Linked DNA regions of Homo sapiens: all the other regions are linked to region 1. The links are contacts of gene promoters, found by promoter capture Hi-C in blood cells and fetal thymus (Javierre and others, 2016). All regions are on one chromosome and are shown on one strand. Each heading gives the region's core, a stretch centred on a gene start or on the middle of the fragment in contact. The rest is flanking DNA. Distances are from core to core; before and after follow the strand shown. Region 1 holds the start of NHEJ1 (non-homologous end joining factor 1). Region 2 holds the start of CFAP65-AS1 (CFAP65 antisense RNA 1). Region 3 has its middle 2.7 kb from the start of RESP18.

Region 1 (3,724 bases), core at 266-2,765:
CGGCTGCTTGACAGAGAATGTGATTGTTTTTCCTGTGGGGGAGAAAAAAATATGTCAATTTCCTTCATTATTCCAGTCTACAAATATAAAATGAACAGAAGTACCAGGAAGGAAAAATTTAGAATGTAAATAATGAAATTCCTTATTAAGTCTGATTAACACAGTCATTTCCCCTAGCTTTTGAAGTGTGCCCTTGTGACTTGTGACATAACTTTATATATATATGCATATATATATGCATATATATATATGCATATATATATGCATATATATATGCATATATATATGCATATATATATATGCATATATATACATATACGTGGTGATCTTTCTTTATGGCATCCTCAAAGCCTTGTGTTTGGAGGATGGTGTTTCCGTCACATTTCCCACATGCTGCTCTTATGGGGACAGAAGTGGTCATGGGATGATTAAGCTAGTCCTAGCCGGACAAGAGCTCCACAATGCCAAAGGTCACAAACGCGAATAAAGTCGCCACTTTCATCTCCCTTATAGGCACTCCCCAGTGTACTCTTAACAGTTGCCAAAATTGGGTTTACTATTCTAGCCCATTCCTTCGGAAAGCCCGGAAGCTCAGAACCCTCAAATTGATGGGTTTTGTTTGTCTGTTGGGTAAAGGGGGAGGAGTTTAAAATGTGGCCAGGAGTAACGGGCCCTATAAAAAGGCCTGACACATTGGGCACCAGACCCCGGCTGCCTGCTCCCACCACACGCGTCCCGTTCTGCGTCCGAAGCTTCTACACTTCATCCTTTTCTTTTTTCCTTCAAGGCTGCCTCTAACATTCACATTAACGAGATTCACGGGTTTATTTCTCTTGAGTGGAGGGGCGCTGAGCGGCATCCCGGCGGAGGGGTCCCTTGAGAACCTTTATCTGCACCGAGTCCGCTCCTCAGCAGTGACCCCTCTGGGCAGTTCCTCCGACGCCCTGCAGAGGGCAGTAGAGGCCCAGAGAGCATCCCGGCTGGGCCCCGCCCGGTCCCCCTGGGACAGCGCGAACCCTAGGTCCCACCACAACCATAGCCCCACCCCAGGAGCCGCCAGGCGTCCCGCTTCCACCCGCCCCAGCTATAACAGCCTTCGCTGTCCGCCTTCCCATTTCTACAGCACTGGCTGCACTGGGGCGCGGCTTCAAGGGGCAACAAAGCCGGCCACCAGCGGCTTCGTCGCACCAAACAGGCGACCAACGAGTACCTTCACTCGAGCCCTACCATCCACGCCGGGCAGCAGCCAGCGGACTGCGCACGCGCGGCCCCGCCCACCCCTCCCCCGGAGGCCTGCCCTGGACCCCGGCAGCGCGCGCTCCCTCCAGGGAGAAAAGGCCAGCGCCAGGGCCAACCCGCAGCGTCTGAGCAGCCCCTCGCTGGCTTGCTCCTGCCCGGACTCGAACGCGATTCCACCTACCGTCAGCGGCCGCGAGAGCGCCCACTCTCTTAGCCGCACGCACGCTTTCCTGCCCGCTCGCGCAAACCGAAAGGCCTAGAGTAAGAGGCCGCTTTCCCCCCACCGCAAGAGGAGGCAGGGTCTTGGGATACAGGGGCGGGGCCTATGCCTGGCGTGGGCGGGGCTTCTGGGCCTGGGACACTGATGAGAGGAGCGCCCCAGTGGCCAGGGTAAGTGGAGGAGAGGCCGGGCAGCCGGCTAGTAGAAGGGTAGTGGCGCGTCTTGGAGTCACGCTGGCCGAGTGGAAAGAATAGCGGGCGAGGCGCAGGAGAGGGGAGCCCAGGTTTGGATTTGTCAAACTTGAGTCACTTCTCTTCCCTCCCCTACCTATCCGGTCTCTTTTTAACAAAATAAGGGATTGAACTTCTGTAGATGATCTCTCAGGTCCTCCACCAGCACTAGAGTTGTTGAAGGAAGGAGTCTCCCAGGCATAAGTCCCATAGTCCGACCTCATCCTTTACCTCTCCTGCTTCATTTCTCCATCATCCCCGTACTTATACTCCCTCACTACTGAGAAATTTGAAACCCCTCACCTATCTTGGACTTTGTACAACCCATGGCTTTGCTCAAGCTGGACCCCGAACCTGAAAACTTCTCTGCATCCATTTTCCAAAACCAAAAATCCTCATTTGTCAAGGCCATCCTCATTGCTTCTTGCATAAAGCCTTTCCCACTGTCCCCAATCAGAATTCATTATCCCTTCCTCTTTGCTCCCACGGCATTATTTTAATCTTTATTACAGACTGCTTTCTGCTTTGCATTTTCGTTAGTAATTACAAAGGTCTTTTTAAACCGTAAATGCCTTGAGACGGCATGGACCCTGTCTTATCCCTGTAGTTCCAGGACCTTGCACATGGGAGATGCTCAGTAAGTATTAAAGTGAATGCTGGGGTTCAAGTGGCATTGATAGTACACAGGCAAAATCTCAATCATTCATGGTCCACTAAATCATGGCCTCTGCTCTGGAACAGTTAGGCCTAATTAAGACAAGGAAAGGCAACCCACCCTATTGGGAAATGGAACCTCTAGACAGTCCCATGTAATACACACACACATATCCTCTGCCTACAAGAAAGAACAGTTTGGGAGCTGACTCTCCAGCAGATGAGAGTTAGGGCTAAATTAACCAGGGCAGAAGTAGGCGTTCTGGTCATTTCTGGGACCTAAACCCTTCTCTGCTAGATTCAGGGCATGGCTCCCCTGAGCCAGGCAGCAAGTCTGCCATCTCTTCTGGCTCAGAGGAGCCTCCTTCCTCATCCCCAGGGTCTTCAGGCAGTGGGCAGAGGCAGTGGAGAGGCTGGGGGATGCAGGGACAGAGGTTTTGGATGGGGAAAGGAAGTCTGTACACTTGAGCAGCCTTCTCCCTGGGCTTCTGAGGCATTCGAGCCTCTTGGGCAGTGAAAGGAGATGGTAGCCCTTGACCTAGGCCTCGCTCAAGCTGTGTGCCTGCAAAAGAGAGGTTTGTCAGGCTATTGCCCATCCCAGGGAGGGATGGCTTCCTGGCCACTCCCCAGTCTGCTAGGGCCTAGCCTCAACTTACCAGGAATCGTGTTCTCTAGTAGGAAGCCTGAGAGTCCAGCCAGGAAGATGGGCTGTGTCAGCAGTGAGTGCAGTAATACATCCAAGGGGCTCCAGCCTATGAAGAGTTGGGGCCAGGCAGGAAGGGAACTCTGATCCTATATCCAAGCCCAGGAGTCTTACCCTCCCAGACCTAAACCTAAGCCTTGGACTAAGGACAGATCTTTCTGAATTGTCATTTCATCCCTCTCACCCTTTGTCTTTCTACTCTCCACTTTCCAAATCCAGGCCTTTCCCACAGGATTCCTGCTCAACACCCTGTGTTCTGATCATCCACACACCCTCCATATATGCTTTGACTATTCCAGGTTCCCTTTCTCTAGAAAGCGTAATATTTAAGTCCCAACCTCATCTCCCATTTTTTACCCTCTATGCTCTATCCTGGGTTTTTCAACCTCAGTCCTACTGACATCTTGGACCAGATAATTCTTTGTTGGGGGTGGTGGTGCAGGGGGGATGTCCTGTACAGTGTAGGATGTTTAGCAGCATCTTTCTATCCACTAAACCCTAGTAACAACTCCCTCTTCCTCCATTTGTAACAGCCAAAAATGTCTCCAGACATTGCCAAATGTCCCCATGGGGGCAAAATCACCCAGTTGAGAACTGGGTGAGACAAATTAAGCAATTTACTGCTCTCAGGACATATCCTAAGACTTCCCACTTCTGTGTCTTTGCATAAATGATGGT
Region 2 (3,906 bases), core at 516-3,015, 160 kb before region 1:
AGGGGAAGCCCTCAAAGACACAGGGAAGGTGCACCAGGACCATGCCAGGCCCCTGACAGGCAAATCTTTCAGTGCCAGGCAGAGTAAAGGGCTGGCCCAGGACAGAGCCTGGTCAGGGGGGCCAGGAGAGGGCTGCACACACCCTAGCCCAGGACCCAAGGACCTTCCCCTGCCCCTGGGGCTGCTCCACGAAGAGCCCTGCTGTAGTCCACCCTCTCCCTAAACCTGCCTGGGATCTGTCCAACGCCATCTCGCCCCTCCCCCTTCTCTCTCTGTGCCACGGACTCGGGCTCAGCAGATCCTTTGGGGCCTCTGGGTAGTTGGGTGACATAGGGGCACTAGAGCGGGTGGTGGTGGAGGGGACAATCCAGCACCTCTAGGAACATGCAGTTTGGAGGGACTTCTGACCCTGGTTCCCATCTCCCGGGGCTGCCTCTGCCTGAGCTGAGGGCCACCTACCTACCCCACCCCAGCTGATGGAAGCGAGGATGTGGGATTCTGAGGTTTGAGGAAGGTGGTGAACCGCTGTGCCTGGGGGCTTGTCCTTTTCAGTCAGTCTGACTGTCTCAGACGTTTTTAGACTGAAAGAGGGACCAAGGGAGTGTCAGGGAGTGACATCTCAGGATGTCAGCAGCACCACAGAGATCCGAGGAGTGGATTTGAGGCTCCATGGTGGCCCTCAGCTTCCCCCGCCCAGATTTTCCACACCTCAGCCTTGGCTCCAACTCCGTGAGGGCCTGCATCTTCCCCAGCATGACCAGGAGCCCAGGAACCGGGACAGGAGGCTGGGGAGGGCCTAGCCCCTGCGGGAGGCCAGACCAACCGTTCACTGAGCAAATGGGAAAACCAAGAGGCCGGGAAATGACTTGCCCAAGGCCATAGAAGTCGCGGGGACAGAGGCGGACTAGAATCCGGGTTTCCACCTCCAGAAGGGTTTCTGTTCTGGGCCACGGCCCCCTTCGCCACCCGCTGGAGCCGGCTCAGCCCGTATTACGACGCAGAATGGAGCCTGGCAGCCCAGAAGCTGCGGGCAGGGCAAGGCAGGGCGGGTGGGGCCGGATGGGAGCCGGATCTCCCCTGGAGCGGCGCACAGCCTCTCCCACCCGTACGGTTGAGATGGCGGTGGCGGTGGCGGCGGCAGGTGCCTGCGTGGCGATCAGGCCGGCCCCCGGGCTGGTGCTGAGAGGCCGCCCCTGCCTCACGCGAGCCGAACGAACAAAACGCTCAGGTCCGGTTTGTGCGAGGGGCTCGTCGCGGGGCGGGAGCGGAGGGCCCGGGGCCTGGCGGTCGCCCTCGGTGATCTCCTGGTCCTGGTCTTCCGCGAGCTCAGTGCTGCACAGCGCCCCGCTAGCCTCCGCCCTCACCTGAACGCATCTGCGGCTGACACGTCGGCGGCCGCGGCGGCCACCGCAGGTGCGCACCTGGCCCGCCCCTCCTTTCCCAGCCACCCTCCGCCCGGCTTTCCTGGCCCCTCCGCCCGGCCCAGCCTAGCTTGGCTTCGTCCCCAGCCCACGCCTTGGAGCTTGTCCCGGAGCCCGGGCTCCGTGTGCTCTTATACTGCCTGTTCAGTCCCCGCCCCCAGACACACACACTCACACCTGTCCAGGCGCCCGTTTGCTCGGGGCAAATATTGACTCATGGAGGCGGAGCGCTCCCCCCTCCCCCGCCCGGGCTCTGAGACCGGAGCTTCTCCGAGGCCTTGGTGGCGGGGGCGGAGGGGAGGGTGCTGGGGACCCTGGGCGCCTCTGGAACAACACCAGATGTCACTTTTCCACCCACCTGCCTCTGGGAGGGAGGAGCCGAGAAGCAGAGGACAGAAGCTCCCGGGCGGGGGTTAGGAGGAACCGAGAGGTGGGTATCCATCCTCGTCTGAGGACTGATTCACAGTGGGAGTCGCTTAGCAGGGTCTGTGGCCCGAAATCCAGTGGTGACCTCGACCCGCCCCAGCCTAGTTCCTGGCCCTCCGCGGCGTGCCTCAGTTCTTCCTCCCCAGCCTCTTGGGCACTCGGAGCTCGGCAAATGCTAAGGGGCTGGCCCTGGGGGTGCTAAGCCTCCGAGCAGGCGCGGCGCGGAAAGGTGAGGGGTGGCCGCCCTGCCCAGTGGACACCTGCTTCGCTGGCCAGGCCTGGCACTCAGTTACTGTGCACCAAGGTGCGCTGGGGCAAAGGCCAGCCAGGCCCCGTCCGGAGCGCCCTCCACTGGCCAGACCCGGTCCAGCGGCCGGCAGCTAGCGGCCAGGTCTCAGTCCAGCTGCAGTGTGGGCGGAGAGGTGCATCCTCCCGGGCCCTAAGTTCCCGCCGCGCCTCTGCAGTCCGCCCGGGCTGCTCCCTGCCATCCTTCCCTCTCAGAGCTCGCGCGCGCGTTCCCCCTCGTCGGGGAAATAAAGTCAAGGTAGATACAGAAAAAAGACTAGATGCTTTTACTGGCGGTGGAGAGGGGGCCAGGCGTGACCCCTAGCGGCATGTCGGAGAGGCTGGGCGCGGGCATTTACGGAAGGTCGGTAGGAAGTGGCACCACCGGGTGGAGTACCTCTGCTTGCTGCGTCGGCAGCAGCGTGTCCGGGGTCAGACTCCTGGAAGACAAAAAGTCCCAGGTAGGCGTGGGGGCGAGGCTTCGGGCAGAGCCTGGCTGCCCCCGTGGCCCCTCTCGCGCGGTCTGCGCGGCCGCTGGTCCCGGCGCCCTTACCTGGGCACGCAGAACGGCGGCAGGGCGATGACGCGTGGCCGCGAGGTGAGTACCACCTCCCCGCGGCTCGCCTCCACCAGGATGTTCTGGATCATGTTCTCCAGCAGCGCCTCCTGCAGGTTGGCGAAGGCCGGGAGCCTGCGAGGGGGCGGGGGCTAGCATGAGGGCGGCCGCAGTGCCCGCGCGCCTCCTCGCTCGCCTGTCCGTGCGGTACATTGTGCCGCGAGCTCTACGGAGATTCCCATTCGACTCCCCTCATCCACTACACTATGGGGCATTCTTGTTTCAATGTTACGGACGTTCCAAGTGTGGCTAAAAGATTCCAAGTTGCCAAATATGCTGCTGGTTTAAGGGGTGGGATTCAAACCCAGGCGATGTAGTAGGCATCTCAGGGCCAAGTTTAGAGAAAGGTAGGGAAGTGATGAGAGGGCGCAGAAGGGACTGGGTGGGGCCTAGGGAATCCCTACAATGACATAAATCATCTGTAGGGCAGCCCCGGCGGGAAGTCCCACCTGCAAGACAGGTGGTCCTTTTCTGGCTCTAGAAGCCCATTTACAAGACTTTGCAGACTATAACAATTCTCCTGGTAAGTTGGTAAATGTCAACAACTAGTTCTTAGAGAAAAAAGAATAAAGTTCAGTGTTGGTGCCGGGCGGATACTCCCACAGAGGCCTTAAGCTACCAACATGACCTCACTAAGCACTGAATTAGGATGAGATGTGCATACAGGCAGCAGCCATCCTTGGCATCCCACTGCCTCCTAGGAACCTTCTGCACTTCGCCTCCCTCCCGTCCTCACTGGGGCCTGGCTGCTCACCTTCTGATGGCCTCCTTCTCGTCCTGTTCTTGCTCCTCCTTCACCATGACATTCAGCTGCTGTTGCCACTGCCATTGCATGGACTCCTGGGACTCAGGCTGTGGTGTGGGCCCGATGCCCGCCCAGCTCACTTTCTCTTCCTTCTCATCCCTCTCCTCCTCCTTCTCCTCTATCTCCTCCTTGCCCAACTCCTCCTCTTCTGTCTCCTCTTCTTCCTCCTCTTCCTCCTCCAACTCTTCTTCTTCCTCTTCACCCTTCTCCTCCTCCCCCTCTTCCTTCTTTCCCAACCCTGGATAGTGCTCTGGTCTGTCTTCCTTCGGCTGCTTGCCCTTCCCATCCTCCCAGCTGCTGGAGGGTACAGGCAGGATTGGCATTAAGTACAGGCTGTTTTTCTGGTCCATGAA
Region 3 (3,994 bases), core at 285-2,784, 170 kb after region 1:
ATGCCAGGCCTTGGACACTGTACTCTTTTAAATTGAGTTGTTGTAGTAACTAACTAGCTAACTGACCTCTTGCTTTCACTCTTGTGTACTTACAAGCTAGTTTGTGAGCTTTCTAACTCTTAGACTGGCATTTAAATTTTTTTTCATTAAGCTTAAAACATTTATTAAACTGGGCATGGTGGCTCATGCTTGTAATCTCAGCACTTTGGGAGGTCGAGATAGTGGATTACTTAAACCTAAGGGTTTGTATAGTGAACATTTGGGGTTGATACATTACAAAGGATCTGAATTATATTATTATCTTTAAAGGGTAATAGTTTGAGTTTGTTCTGGCAGGCAATTAAATTTTTGGTAAAAAGTCTTGATCCTGTGGCAGTCTGGTTAGGGAAGGAGTACTTCATCCTATTCTCAATTCTAGCCTGTATCTCTTAGTCCTGGGATATGGTGCTTATGGCTAAGGTGTGGTCCTTTTTGGATTTCAACATAACCCAAAGTCATTTACCAAAACTCTCTATTTTACGGGTCCTGAACTCCAAACTCAGTCACCCTAACACTGTGACAGCTGCCAAAATCTCTGTTCAGATATTTGACTTTTTCACTAGGTTCCTTGAAATCTCACCCTGCGCAAGTGCCATTTAGAAGATAGCTAAGAATTGGAGGGGAGTTAGGATGCAGATTTTGAGTTCCTCTCTCTGTAATTTATTCATTTTCTAAATTTCTTCCTCAATTTCCAGATGCTCTGGCATCTCTGTACTCCAAAAGCTGTTTCCTTAGTAAGACTGCCAGTTGCTGACAGAGCTGTTTCCCTGTGTACTGCAGTGAACTCTGAAGTATCTTCAGAGGAAAAGCCTATACATGTATAAGTCACTTGGTGGACTTCCTTTTTTTGAGGACTATACTCCCTGTAGGTTTCTAACTCTTGATCAGTCTCCATGCTTTCATACAGTTATTTTTATATTTTGCCTAGAGTATATACCCAATGTTAGGAGGATCCGACACAAGTTTCTGTCTTGTCACGCCAAAAACTAGAGGTTTATCTGGTTGTCACTGATTATGTACTGGACATGCTATTTTAAAATAAATTTATAGCAATAATTTGAGGCCTAAGAGCAAATGAACGTGAACCTGCTTTGTGAAGTATAATGCTCCTGGAAAAAGGGAAATATTGGTCTTTGGGTCGGCTGAACAAAGGTGAGTGTGCTCCTCTCTGTATTTTAAGATTTTAAACCACCAGGAGAATGGCTATCAAAATGATAAATGTACAGGAGCATTGATGCTGCTCTTCTTTTTACTGTTCATTGGAAGGGATTCTAATGCTAAGAGTAATACCCTCAGAAGACTTAGCAGGTTTTCAGGCCTATTGAACCAGGGGTTCGTAGGAAGGAACTTTCTTTCCCAAGAAGAAAGAAAGACTACCATAAAGTGTAGCTGGGGAGAGTGGGCGAAGGAAGATTGTAATTCAGCTGTGGTCCTACTCTGTCTTACATTCATGTTACAAATGATGTCCGGAAGGAGAAGGAGATCAGAAGCCTAGGCTCCATGTGTACCAAGGAGTTTTACTATTTCAATCCCCACCCCAAATGTCCTCTCTGTTCTGGCTTTACATATTTTAATTCAGAAGCTCTGGCTGAGGCCCACTGTCTTACTTGCAGACAAGCCTGCTTAAAGAATTTTCATGAAAACTCACTTTAAAAAATCCAGTAGCAAGTTGTCCTAAAACTGCCTCTCTGCAGGGTAATGGGGCTGGGAGAGGAGGAAGGCCTCAATCTGTGACAAAGTTTTGCTCAGAGAAGGAAACAGTTCAAAGAAGCTCTAAAATGGGAGGAAAATCGGATTTGGAATTTGTGTGTATATGTGCCAGGGGCTCCCCCTCCACAGTGTAAGCTCCCCTCACCCCACTATATAAGGGCCTCTAGTTGCAGTCTTGACTTGGGCAAGTCTTGAGGAATAGTGACTCAGCAACCACCTGACAGCTAGCCTCCCCTTGGCTCCGACGTCATGATCTTCTCTCTCTCCCTGATTTTCCCTTAGGTACAGAGCTAGTCAAGGACGCTGAGCCTGCAGAAGAAAGGCAGATTCTTGTTTGCATAATTGGTAGCACCATGACAACCAGTTCTTATTGTGAGGATCAGTCATTTAGTGCTGATGATGCCACTCCAGCGACCAATCCAGGTAGGAGAAGTGTAGCTGCCATGGTGACAGGAATCAAGAAGCAGTTTCCTTGGAAGCATAAGGATCTAGAGCCCCCTGAGGTTCAGGCTGCCTGTTGGGGCAGTGCAGGGCCAGATAGAGGTGCTAGGCTCCTGTGATTGCCTCGCCCAGGCCACCACAGTCTTTCTTGGACCAAGACAACACTTCCTAACTGATCTATTGATTCCACTCTTTCCCCTATCAATATATTCTCAAGTAGCCTTTTAAAATTATATATCACATAATTCTATTCCCTTCCTTAAAATCCCCAGTGATTTTTCCTCTGTACTTTGCATAAGATCTGGACGCTCTACTGTTGCCTACAGAGCTCTGTCTAGGCAATTTTGGACTTATTTCTCCAATCCCATCTCCTATCACTGGTTGTTCTGTTTGTTTTTCTAAAGTGCCATTTGAGAAATGAAAAAATATAATAACTAAAATAAAAACTCACTGGATGAGCTCCAAGCGGGATAGAAATGACAGAAGAGTCAGTCAACTTGAAGATGGGTCAACAGAAATAATCCAATCAGAACAAGAGAGAGAAAAAACATTGGGAAAAAAAAAGTTAACAGAACTTCAGGGACCTGTAGGGCAATATCAAAAGTCCAAAATTAATGTCATTGGAATTCCAGATTAAGAGGATAAAGTGCAGTACACACAAAAATTTTGAAGAAATAATTTCTGAAAAATTCCCAAATGTGTGAAAAGACATAAGCCTAAAGATTAAAGAAGCTTAAGGAATGCCAAATAGAATAAACTCAAAGAAGTCTATACTCTTGACACATTATAATCAAAAATTCTAAACACTGAAACAAAGAAAAAAATCTTAAACAACACACGACTAAAGAACAATGGGATTCAGAAAACTGAATTTTTCATTATAAACCATGTGGGCCAGAAGGAAGTGAAATAACATCTTTAAAGTTGTGAGAGAAATGAGCTGCCAACTGAGGATTCTATATCCAGCAAAAATATACTTTAAGAATGAAAGTGAAATAAGGATATTCTCAGATGAAGAAAAACTAAGATAATTAATTGCTAGTAGAAACATCAGGAATGAAGAAGAGGAACAGAAATGACAAGTGTCTGAATAAATATCATAGACTATTCTTCCCCTTGTGAGTTATGTAAAATATGTTTGGTTAAAAGCAAAAATTCCAGCCTGGGCAACATGGCAAAACCCTGTCTCTACCAAAAAAAACCCAAAAAACAAAAACACAAAAACAAAAAATTAGCCAGGCATGGTGTCACACACATGTAGTCCTACTTAGGAGGCTGAGGAAGGAGGATTATCTGAGCCCAGGGAGGTCAAGGCTGCAGTGAGCCATGATCGCACTACTGCATTCCAGCCTAGGCAACAGAGTGAGACCCTGTCTCAATAAATAAATAAATAAATAATAAGGTTGGGTACAGTGGCTCACACCTGTAATCCCAGTACTTTGAGAGGCTGAAGTAGGAGAATCACTTGAGCTCAGGAGTTGGAGACTAGCCTGGGAAACATAGCAAGACCTCGTCTCTACTAAAAATTAAAAAAATTCCAGCCTGGAAACATGGCGAAACCCTGTCTCTACAGAAAATACAAAAATTAGCTGGGTGTGGTGGTGTGTGCCTGTAGTCCCAGCTACTCAGGAGGCTGAGGCAGGAGGATTGCTTGAGCCTGGGAGGTGGAGGTTGCAGTGAGCTGAAATCATGCCATCGTACTCCAACGTGGGTCACAGTGTGAGACACTCCCCCCAAAAAAAAAAAAAAATTCACTGGGCTGGTTCTGATGGGACAGCATGCCTGTAGTCTTAGCTATTCAGAA

Evidence for each region. Contacts are between HindIII fragments. The CHiCAGO score rates a contact against its expected background, and 5 or more counts as called.
Region 2: the fragment with the promoter of CFAP65-AS1 here is called in contact with the fragment with the promoter of NHEJ1 in region 1 in 1 of 17 cell types (M2 macrophages); the score reaches 7.1 in M2 macrophages.
Region 3: a contact is called between a fragment that was not itself captured here and the fragment with the promoter of NHEJ1 in region 1, in 12 of 17 cell types (M1 macrophages, erythroblasts, total CD8 T cells and 9 more). The highest score is 7.5, in M1 macrophages.

Annotation. Positions count from the first base shown.
Region 1 is chr2:219,159,300-219,163,023 of GRCh38, forward strand. It overlaps NHEJ1 (non-homologous end joining factor 1), which reads right to left and starts at 1,516. Exons shown (of 8, transcript NM_024782.3): 1 at 1,421-1,516. It overlaps SLC23A3 (solute carrier family 23 member 3), which reads right to left. Exons shown (of 12, transcript NM_001144889.2): 11 at 3,000-3,095; 12 at 2,166-2,905. The coding sequence ends at 2,610. RefSeq lists a silencer at 1,181-1,300. The HindIII fragment of the contact is 12,472 bases long and covers 751-3,724 here.
Region 2 is chr2:219,000,450-219,004,355 of GRCh38, forward strand. It overlaps CFAP65-AS1 (CFAP65 antisense RNA 1), which reads left to right and starts at 1,766. Exons shown (of 3, transcript NR_046086.1): 1 at 1,766-1,851. CFAP65 (cilia and flagella associated protein 65) reads right to left here. Exons shown (of 35, transcript NM_194302.4): 33 at 3,503-3,906; 34 at 2,686-2,823; 35 at 2,397-2,572. The coding sequence ends at 2,488. MIR375 (microRNA 375) reads right to left here and starts at 1,259; the gene lies at 1,196-1,259. RefSeq lists enhancers at 1-95, 1,538-1,832. The HindIII fragment of the contact is 13,795 bases long and covers 1-3,906 here.
Region 3 is chr2:219,333,470-219,337,463 of GRCh38, forward strand. No RefSeq gene overlaps it. Among named protein-coding and RNA genes, the nearest start is that of RESP18, 2.7 kb to the left of the region's middle. RefSeq lists an enhancer at 1,254-2,453. The HindIII fragment of the contact is 2,771 bases long and covers 150-2,920 here.